3 separate regions of the Homo sapiens genome follow, and all the other regions are linked to region 1. Evidence: promoter capture Hi-C in human tissues and cell types (Jung and others, 2019). All regions are on one chromosome and are shown on one strand. The core of a region is centred on a gene start or on the middle of the fragment in contact, and the rest is flanking DNA. Distances in the headings are between cores, read along the strand shown. Region 1 holds the start of ZNF30 (zinc finger protein 30). Region 2 overlaps LINC00904 (long intergenic non-protein coding RNA 904). Region 3 holds the start of LOC124904700 (a long non-coding RNA gene).

The links. Contacts are between HindIII fragments. The study calls those that stand out against the background at their distance.
Region 2: a contact is called between a fragment that was not itself captured here and the fragment with the promoter of ZNF30 in region 1, in 4 of the 25 tissues and cell types used here (H1 embryonic stem cells, dorsolateral prefrontal cortex, mesendoderm cells and 1 more).
Region 3: a contact is called between a fragment that was not itself captured here and the fragment with the promoter of ZNF30 in region 1, in 3 of the 25 tissues and cell types used here (aorta, dorsolateral prefrontal cortex and stomach).

The regions. Positions count from the first base shown.
Region 1 is chr19:34,925,619-34,928,845 of GRCh38, reverse strand. ZNF30 (zinc finger protein 30) reads right to left here and starts at 1,943. Exons shown (of 5, transcript NM_194325.3): 1 at 1,630-1,943. It overlaps ZNF30-AS1 (ZNF30 antisense RNA 1), which reads left to right and starts at 2,020. Exons shown (of 3, transcript NR_110749.1): 1 at 2,020-2,117. The HindIII fragment of the contact is 21,653 bases long and covers 1-3,227 here.
Region 2 is chr19:34,890,119-34,893,702 of GRCh38, reverse strand. It overlaps LINC00904 (long intergenic non-protein coding RNA 904), which reads left to right. Exons shown (of 6, transcript NR_187844.1): 5 at 247-359; 6 at 1,407-1,871. Among named protein-coding and RNA genes, the nearest start is that of LINC00904, 13 kb to the left of the region's middle. The HindIII fragment of the contact is 4,130 bases long and covers 217-3,584 here.
Region 3 is chr19:34,970,732-34,974,205 of GRCh38, reverse strand. It overlaps LOC124904700 (a long non-coding RNA gene), which reads left to right and starts at 579. Exons shown (of 2, transcript XR_007067237.1): 1 at 579-1,022; 2 at 1,577-1,840. The HindIII fragment of the contact is 3,713 bases long and covers 1-3,357 here.

The sequences.
Region 1 (3,227 bases), core at 694-3,193:
AGAGATTTTTATTTTTCTGTTTGTTTGTTTGTTTGAGACAGGGTCTCACTCTGTTGCCCAGGCTGGAGTGCAGTGGTGTGATCTTGGCTCACTGCAACCTCCACCTCCTGGGAGCCTCCCAAGTAGCTGGGATTACAGGTGCCCACCACCACGCCTGGCTAATTTTTGTATTTTTACTAGAGACAGGGTTTCACCATGTTGGCCAGGCTGGTCTCGAACTCCTGACCTCAATTGATCCACCCATCTCAGTATCCCAAAGTGCTGGGATTACAGGCGTGAGCCACCGCACCCGGCCACCATAATTGAGTAATAGCAATAACTAATAATAAAATAGAACAACTATAATAGCATACTGTAATAAAAGTTATGTGAACATGGCCCCTCTCTCTCAAAATATCTTATTGTACCAAAATCACCTATTTTCAGATCATGGTTGACTGAGGGTAACAAAGTGAAGAAAGTGAAACTGCCGATTAAGGGGGCACTACTGCATTGGAGTTATTACGTAAACATTATACATCCTTTATTTCATTTTAATTAAACACTTGTTTCCACTTAATTTAATTTATGTATCTATCTATCTATCTATCTATATATATATATATATATATATATATATATATATTTTTTTTTTTTTAGAGAAGGGATCTCGCTCTGTCGCCCAGGCTGGATTGCGGTGGTGCCATCTCCACTCACTGCAACCTCCGCCGCCTCCCAGCTTCAAGCACTTCTCCCACCTCCGCCTCTCAAGTAGCTGTGACTACAAGCGCACGCCACCATGCCTGGCTAATTTTTATATTTTTAGTAGAGACGGGGTTTCACCATGTTGCCATGTTGGTGGTCTCGAACTCCTGAGCTCAGGCAATCCACCCGCCTCAGCTTCCCAAAGTGCTGGGATTACAGGCATGAGCCATGGCACCCGACCTGTTTCCACTTTTTACTTAAAACGTAAGTTTCTCTGGCATGCTTTCTTTTAATTCTAACTAAAAAATTAAGAGCAACTCTTCTTTAAAAACAAACAAATAAAAAACCAACAGAAAAGATTCTCTGACATTTCAATTTCCTCTGTCCCCTAGCAGCTAGAGAGAGAGAGCTACTGCTGTGGGATAATGCAAAATTGAAGAACCTTAAGAAAAAGCTGGGTCCTATTTCTGTGCAATATGGAGATTGATGGAAATGTTTACAGCTGTCATCTTGCTCTCCTTTCTTACATAATTTTGTCATTAGTTAAGTAATCTGCACAACAGATCCTTTGAAGTCCTTTTCCCTGCACTGATAATTTTCAGATGACATTGCTCTCATCTTTAAAAGGTGTAAATACTTTATACAGTTTTTTCCAAACAAGAAGAGGCTTCCTGGCAATCCCATTTCTTCCCGCTGCATGCAAAAGGTATCATAACTATCGTTTCCTTTTTAAACTGAGAGTTGAAGAGTCTTTTGCTCCTTTACATAAATCAATTACAGTGATTTTATCCAAAATAGTAACAAATATTAATAGCTCAGGTTCGCATGGAGGCCATGCACCCAGTCTTCGCGGATGCACACCGGCCCCGGCCGACGCACCCTCCCTGCCCTGCCGCTCCCGCACTCGCCGGCCCGGGATCCTCGCCCGGTCCACCCAACGCTCACGCATGTCTCAGTCCGGGTTCCGCGCCGACACAGGTCTGCAGAGCTCCCGGTGCTGTGTTCGTTTGCAGAAATTCAAGTTGCCCGGCGGGGCTGCTCCAACCTCGGAGCTGGGCGCTGACTTCTCCCTCGATGAACTCCAAAGCTCGCTGCCGGGTCAACGACCACAATGAACTGGCGAGGAGGCAGAGATTGAGGTCGTTCCAGTGGCCGCTGAGAAATGTAGTTTCAGGCTACATTGGCCGGATAGCTGCAGCCTCTGGGAAATGCAGTCCTGAGCCGTCACACCGCCGAGCATGCCCGGCGCAGTCCACAAGGCCGCCCACCGGCGCCCGGAGACTTCTGGGCGCTCCCGTCCGGCTGAGAATGCGCAGGCGCAGGCGCTCGAGTTGCTGGGAGCCATAGACCTCGAAGCTGGGGCGTCTGACACCTGAGGCCCGAAGTAGGTGGCCAGCTTCTTAGAGGGCCAACCCAGGGCATTAACACACCAGGTCAGAAAAAGCAAAAACAAAAACAAACAAAAAATGATAATCTATACCAAAATATGTTATTACTTTAACACAAAAATATGAAAACTAGGTGTTTGAAATTATCTTTCCGTACTGTTTGCTTTTCGCTACAGAAATGCTATTATTTAACAGAATATTAATAGGATTAATAGTGGCAATTAGACTAATCACGTGTGAGAAAAATATATTTCTGTCCTCTGATACAGGAATTTTAAGTTTCTATTAAATATTTAAATTTTGTGGGTTCTATCTAAGATGCTAAATGTAAGACCTTTTAAAAGGAGAATGTAAATAAGGCTAATCAAACAGATATTAACTATATGTAATAGGCATTTATCTTTCTGTCCCATCATACGTTTAGGAGATATTTACTCTTTCTGGTTCCTTTTCCAGTAACACCTCTCTGTATTAGCTGCCTGTAGCCTTTATGGCATTCTTCTTTTGGTTTATGTAATGCTAAAACTGAATACAGGCAAACGTGAAATTCACCTTGACTGTCAGCTCCGCTTTTTGTTTGTTTTGTTTTTGTTTTGTTTTGAGACAGGGTCTCCCTCTGTCGCTCAGACTGGAATGCAGTGGCGCTATCTCGGCTTACTGTAACCTCTGCCTCCCAGGTTCAAGTGATTCTCCCACCTCGGCCTCCAGAGTAGCTGAGACTACAGGGGCGCGCCACTACACCTGGCTAATTTTTGTATATTTTTTGTAGAAATGGGGTTTTGCCATCTTGCCCAGGCTAGTCTCGAACTCCTGGGCTCAAGCGATCCACCCGCCTCAGCCTCCCAAAGTGCTGGGATGACAGGGTGAGCCACCGCGGCCAGCCGAGCTCTGTTCTTATTAAGCCCACATTACAGTGATTCCTGGAGTCAGTCCAGGGTGATGACATTGATAAGGAGGTGGGGAAGGGGAGTGCTGGGGAGGGAAGGGCGGGGTCCCTTTAAATGATATGGAAGGGGGAAAGGGAGGTGCTGGGTACAGGAGGGTGTGGTCCCTGGCTAGGGCTCCACCCCTGGCCCTGTGCCAACTGACCTAGGTGAGGGCAGGCATTTTTGTTTTCCTGCCCAAATGTTGCGTTTCCCAAGACCACCCTGGCCT
Region 2 (3,584 bases), core at 1,032-3,531, 35 kb after region 1:
GATATTCTTAGTTTTGTGTTCCTACTGCTCCCATATCCCTACTAGTAACCCCTCCGATTTTACTTTTGATATATTCACCCATCACTCCTACTATATTGTAAATTCCTTTGAGGCAATAGATGCCTTTCAGCTATATGTCACTAGGCTCAAGCACAATGTCTAGTGTAGAATCAACTCTGAATAAGTATTTAGTAAAATAATATGTCTAAGCTAAGGGAAATGCTTACATTTTTCTTTTTCCCCCAGCTTCAGCTGGTTCTCCTGAACCTTGAATTATCTTAGGAAAGATTGTATTTTCAGGAATTAAGTCTATTGGAGACACAGCAGGACTCCACAGCCAGCTAGATTTGGATAAAATGGTAAGGACTGTAATTTGCTATTTTAGGGTTTTATACTAGAGCCAGACCAATTACTTTTCCAAATAGACCTTATCTAGGTATTTTCTTGAAAAAATGATCTTTTCTGAATTTTCATGGAGCATGAAAACACTTCTATATAATATGTGACATCCTAGTCTTAAAATTTCCAATAATCACAAAGGAGCCATGAGCTTTTTCTTCCTTTTTTTCTTCTAGACATAAGGGCCTCTATACCATACCCATCCTCTTTGGTCGAGGTGTGAATATGTGGGGATGATTTTCTTAAGTCTAAATGAAAGAGAAAGACACAAATGAGACATTTAATTATTTTCAACCAAATTTGTTAATTTTGTTTCCCTAACACACATCGGGGGTGGTCTGGCGTACGACCAAATCAGAGTGATGGAAGAGGAGCACAGAGGGAAAAGGCAAGGGAGGGTCACCCATCCCTTCCTCCTTTGAGCTTCCCTTCCTCATGGCTGCTATCCTTTACATCAAAACACAGAGATGTCAGATGTCAGCCTGTGCAGTTGTAAAGTGTGGCTATGCCACCTCCTATTTGCTGAGCCATAGAACTTTGAAAAGTTACATCTGCCTCAACACAGCACCACTTATAGAAAGAAGTCAATTCTTCTTCCACCGTTGACTAAAATAGAAAAGACATGTAAGCAGAGAGGATCAATGAACAAAAGGAAGGCATTCTCTCTCTCTCTCTCTATATATATATATATACACACACGTGATGTATATATGTATATATATACACATACATATACATTATATGTGTGTGTATATATATATACACATATAACATATATGTGTGTGTATATATATATGTGTGTGTGTGTTTATCAGTCTAGGAAAGAAAGAAAAGGGCCCACTGAGGCAAATGGGCTGGACCAAAGGAGGCAGCTACAGGCAGCAAGGGGTCCTGCCAGCGTAAGATGGCAGGAAAACTGGCCCATAGCTTGGTTCTACCAGACTGAGAAGTTGAAACTGGGTATGGTGTGGTGGATATACTTACTGATCTTTTTCTTCTTTCCACAGTAGACTGCCTCAAGGCCAGTGTGTTGACTTCTGACCAGTCTCATCTGAACCCACACCCTTTAACATATATACAAAACACCTGAAGGGTTGGGCTGCCAGCTTTCTTTAGGATGATAGAGGGCAGGTTAAGTTTGTTTGACATAACTAGAAGAGGTGGAGCCTCTTCCTAATGGAGCAAGGTCCATTTATGGCAAACTGTGGTCCCCCACCACTATCAGCTACTTCTGGATAGCTTTTGCTTAAAGTTGATGAGATATTGTTTCTTTCACTAGAAGAAAATGAATGAGTTGGTGATCCCAAACTTTGGCCTCCAAAGGAAGCCTGGGCAGGTGACAAATGTGTCCTAAGCGAGACTGCTGCTTCCATGCTCATGCTGGAGGTACATTTGCCCTGAAAGATGGAGCAAAAGTGCTGAAGCTTAGCACAGAGGATTAATGAATAAGAACAAGGCTATGTTATATCATATTTGTATAGCAATCTGGAAAAGAAAGAACGGGGCTTGTTAAGGCAAATGGGCAAGACAAAACGGGATATCTATAGGCAGCAAGGGGTCCTGCCAGTCTAAGACTAATGGAAAACTGGCCCATAGCCAGGTATTTTCTCAATGGTGTTCACTACACCAAGTCAGAGGGCTACTTTGTCTAGATAGAGCCCAGGTATTGTGAGTGAGTGCAGGAATAGAAGTGTCTTCCTAAAGGTGTATGTATGGTGTTCTCCTGGGAGACTGTAACAGATGTGCCCTGGGCAAGACCACGCCAGCAGCTGTCAATGATGCTGAGCATACAAATACCCTGGAGCCCAGGAATGGGGCTGCCTCCGCCCAGTGTATCACCTGTGCTCCAGACTGTGTACCCCAGGTCCTCTGCCAGTAGCATCTCCAATCACAGGTGAAATGCCAGCCCTTCAAACAGCACAGGTGGGCCCTAGGTGTCTGATGGAAGGAATGAACAGATATATCACGTGGCATGCATTTCTTCTCAGTGGTGCAGGTATCTCCAGCAGGTTTGCTCTGGCCAGGTGGGCCCCAGTACTTAGACCATATGCAGGAAGAGAAGACTCTCTAAAAATAGGTATGATGTTGGCCCCTTCCATTGCAACACACGTGCCCTGGACAGGTGGGATTCAGGTGTTCTGGCTATAGGTAGGAACATAAAGGCATCCGAGCATAGATGCAGTGCTGGTCCCTTAGACTGCAACAGGTGTACTTTAGTTAGGTGTGCCCCAGGTGGCTTGACTGGGGCAGGAAGAGAAGGATCTCAGCACAGGTATGGTGCTGGTCCCTTCCACTGGAACACAAGTGCTCTGGCCAAACAGGTCCCAGGTGATCTGAACAAAAGGGGGAACAGCCATGTCTTCTGAAACACTCCTTCTCAGTGATCACAAATCTTCCAGTAGTAGTAGGCGTGTTTTGGCTGGGCTGGCACCAGGTGCTCTAACTACAGGTGGGAAGGAAAGTGTTTCCCAGGGCAGATTTGATTTGCTCTCAGCAGTGCCGGCTTCTCCAATTGCAGCAGGAGTGCATCAGGGCTGACAGGACCCTGGCGCTCAGGTCTAAGCCTCCCCCATCATGAGCTGTGGTACTGGCTGTCCCCCAGCCATTTTGCTCCAAAGCTAAGCGATCTAGATGTGGTGGTAGACTCTGCGTGGTAGACCCAATGACCCCAAAGCTTTTGCTATCCATAAGGGCTTCAGATCCCACAAATACAAATTGGCTTGGATTGGCATCAGCAAGAAATGAGCAACAGTCCTCAGTGTTGTGCTTTCTGGTAGCATTTCATGGCAAGAGTAAGAGTGTCCACACCAATGGGTAAAACACCCGAGGCACCACCATGGGCTGCCTGAATGCTGACATTGATGCCAAAGTGGACACGGGAGTGTTTAGTTCCCAAAAGCCAACTGAGTTGTGCTGCCATTGGGTTCTAGGGCTGCAGTAGAGGTTAAGTGTGAAGGGTTTTCAGGGGCTGGCAGGTTTCTCAAAGGGAAACAGCTGTTAACATTGCAGGGAGAGACAGGATGATAACAGATGGGGACATGGGCATGGTACCCATGTTGATTTCCTTAGAGGCAAAGTCAGGCGGAGACACCAAGTCTGAAGACGGGTTGTATACTGGAGTGGAGGTGACTGCAGAATCAGTGGTAGGTGGGCCAGAAAAGACAGGGCACTGGGGGGAGTGGTTC
Region 3 (3,474 bases), core at 252-2,751, 46 kb before region 1:
TCCAGGAGACCCTTGAGGGTCAGGGTTTATGTGTTTCTCCTATGCCTACACACACAGGTGGTGTGGAGTTGTTCCATAGCACAGTTCCATTCATACACAAGGTTCTTACAGTGTGCAATGACCCAGGCTTGCAGCCCTTCTCAACCTTAACTGCACAGTAAAATCCCCAGGGAAACTTTTAACAATCCGGGCAGCAGGCTGCACCCCAGACCAATGCAATCAAAATCTCTGGGGGTAGTCCCTTGCATCAGGGATTTTAAAAGTTCCTCTGGGCCAGGCGCGGTAGCTCACACCTGTAATCCCAGCACTTTGGGAGGCCGAGCTGGGCAGATCACTTGGGGTAAGGAGTTCGAGACCAGCCTGGTCAACATGGTGTAACCCCGTCTCTACTAAAATACAAAAATTAGCCGGGCGTAATGGTGGGAGCCTGTAATCCCAGCTACTCTGGAGGCTGAGGAGGGAGAATCGCTTGAACCCGGGAGGCGGAGGTTGCAGTGAACAGAGATCGCGCCATTGCACTACAGCCTGGGCGACAGAGGGAGACTCCATCTCAAACACACACACACACACACACACACACACACACACACACACACACACACTTCCTCTGGTGGTTCTAACACGCAGCCAAGGTAGAGAACCACTGAGTTACAGCCTGGCCCTCAAGGGTGCACACCAATTGCCTGGGTGGGGGAGTTGACAAAATGCAGATTTTGATTCAGCAGGTCTGGTTTTAAGTCCTGAGGTTCTGCTTTTCAAACAAGTTCCCAGACGCTGCTGCCGCTGGTGGCCGGACAGCATTTTGACAGAAAGGGGCGGGAGCACAAGCAAAGTTCCCTGGGACCGGGATTGTGGTTCTAGTGCCCTCTGGTGGTCAGGACCTCCCTAGCAGCGCCCTGCAGAGAAGAACTGATGATAGAAGCCCTGGCTAACAGAATTTCTGGCGGACACCTGGATTTCAGCCTTGTAATGACCGGAGCAGAACCCAGCCAAGCCTGCTTGGACTCCTGACCTACAAAACTGTGAGATAATAAACGGGTGTTGTTTAAAGCTGCTAAATTTATGGTAATTTGGTGTGCAGCAATAGACAAGAACAAGCTTCATCGTAACAGGCCAGCTGAGAAACCCAAACCCACAGGCTCGGCCCAGTGACCTTGCACGTCTCTTCTCTAGTTCAGGGAGATGGATTCATTCCCAACCTCCTGCTCTCATGGGAGACGAGGTGGAAAGGATTGTACTTCTTGCTGCTTTATTTTTTCATGATTGCTGACTTCTTTTCATCCTACGATGCTTGTTGTCACTGACACCCGTGAAAGCTCAGGGGTGGGATGGTGGTGGGGTTGTTTGCTCTCTGTGGCTGATTGTATTTTCCAAAGGTGAATGCACGGATATATCCTATGCCACATGCCCTCCTTACAATGACCTCGATGACTTGATCTCCTTCATGGAGATATGGGATTTATGTTCCCATCCCTTCAATCTAGCAGGCCTGAGACTGTGGCAGGAGTGACCCCAGGTGACTTTGAAGGCTAAGTCATAAAAGGGGATAACTTCTGCCTGGCTCTCTCTTTCTCAGGGTGCTCATCCTCGGAACCCAGTCTCCATGCTGTGAGGAAGCCCAAGCAGATGCACAGAAAAGCCACCTGTAGGTATCCTGGTCACAGCCCCATCTGAGAGCCAGCATCAATTGCCAGACTTGTAAGTGAGAGAGCTTTCAGAAGGTTCCAGTCCCCTGTCTTCAAGTGGCCCAGCTGATGCTGAGTGAAGCAGACATGAGCCCCAGTGAGTCCTATCCAAGTTGTAGATTCGTGAGCAGAATAAACATTGCTTTGATTCTGGAGCAGTGGCTCGTGCCTGCAATCCCAGCACTTTGGGAGGCTGGGATGGGATGAATGCTTGGGACCAGGAGTTTGAGACGAGCCTGGACAACATGGAAAAACCCTGTCTCTACAAAAAATTAAAAAATTAACCAGGTGTGTTGGTATGAGCCTGTGGTCTTAGCTACTAGGGAGGCTGAGGCGGGAGAATCGCTTGAACCCGGGAGGTCAAAGCTTCAGTGAGCAGTGATTGCACCACTGCACTCCAGCCTGGGTGATAGACTGAGACTCTGTCTTAAAAAACACACAAACAAAAAACCCCAAACCAAAAAACCCCCACATCGCTCTAAGCTGTGAAACTTTGGGATGATTGTGGTGCAGCAAAAGACAACTAGAACACTGTCAGGTTTTTCCCGAGGACAAAACACTGAATTTGACCCTGTGTAGGGGTTGGGGTGAGGAAGCTTTGGTTTTGATAAATTACAGGTGAATTACCTGTTTTCCATTAATTACTATTTTTTGTTTTGTTTTGTTGAGATGGAGTCTCACTCTGTTGCCCAGGCTGGAGTGCAGTGGCACGATCGTGGCTTGCTGCAATCTCTGCCTCCTGAGTTCAAGTGATTCTGCTGCCTCAGCCTCCTGAGTAGCTGGGAGTACAAGTGCCCACCACCACGCCCAGCTAATATTTTGGATTTTTAGTAGAGATGGGGTTTCACTATATTGGCCAGGCTGGTCTGCAACTCCTGACCTCAGGTGATACGCCCGCCTTGGCCTCCCAAAGTGCTGGGATTACAGATGCGAGCCACCGCGCCCAGCCCATTAATTACTATTTTTAAAAGGCAGTCTCGTAAGAAACTAAGCACAGTGCTTATAAACCATTAGGAACTCCCCAGAAAGTTTTTGGAGTATTAGCATTTTTATAACTTTTTTTCTTTGCCACTTAATTCCCTTAAAAGATTCTCTCTTTAAATAGTTCTCAAGGAGAGTCCAGACCCGGGGGGAGGGTAGTTTGAGATATTTTTCTCTCGGGACCTCCCCACTGGTGTTAGGCAGACTTCTAAGAGGGCCTCCAACAACCTCCACCTCCTGTTTGGGTGCCCTTGTGTCATTTTCTTCCCTTGAGTGTGGGCCCGACTTTATGACTTTGCTTCTAACCCAAAGAATATGGCAAAGGTGGTGGGAGGTGGCTTCCATGATGAGATTACAAAAGATTGTGACTTCTGTCTTATGGCAAACTCAACTGCCTTCTTGGTTTGCTTGCTTTAATGAAGCAAGCTCTCCGTTCTGCAAGGCCCAAGAGGGAAGGAATTGAAAGCAGCTTCAGGCCAAAAGCCGGGGAAGAACTGAGGCCCTCAGTCCGACAGGTTGTATGAAGTGAATGAACTTGGAAGTGACCCCTTTCCAGTTGAGCCATGAGATGAGATATTTGTCCTGGCTGGCACCTTGATGGCATTCTTGGGAGAGACCATGAAACAGGGAACCCAGCAGAGCCGTGCCTGGGTTCCAGACCCACAGAAACGAAGAGATAATAAAAGGATGTTGTTTTAAGCCTCTGCGTTTTTGGATAATTTGTTGTGCAGCAGTAGGTTACTAGCACACCGACCCTCCTCTGACTCCTGCAAATCATTTCTGTGTCCGAATCCCACGCTGCCACCAT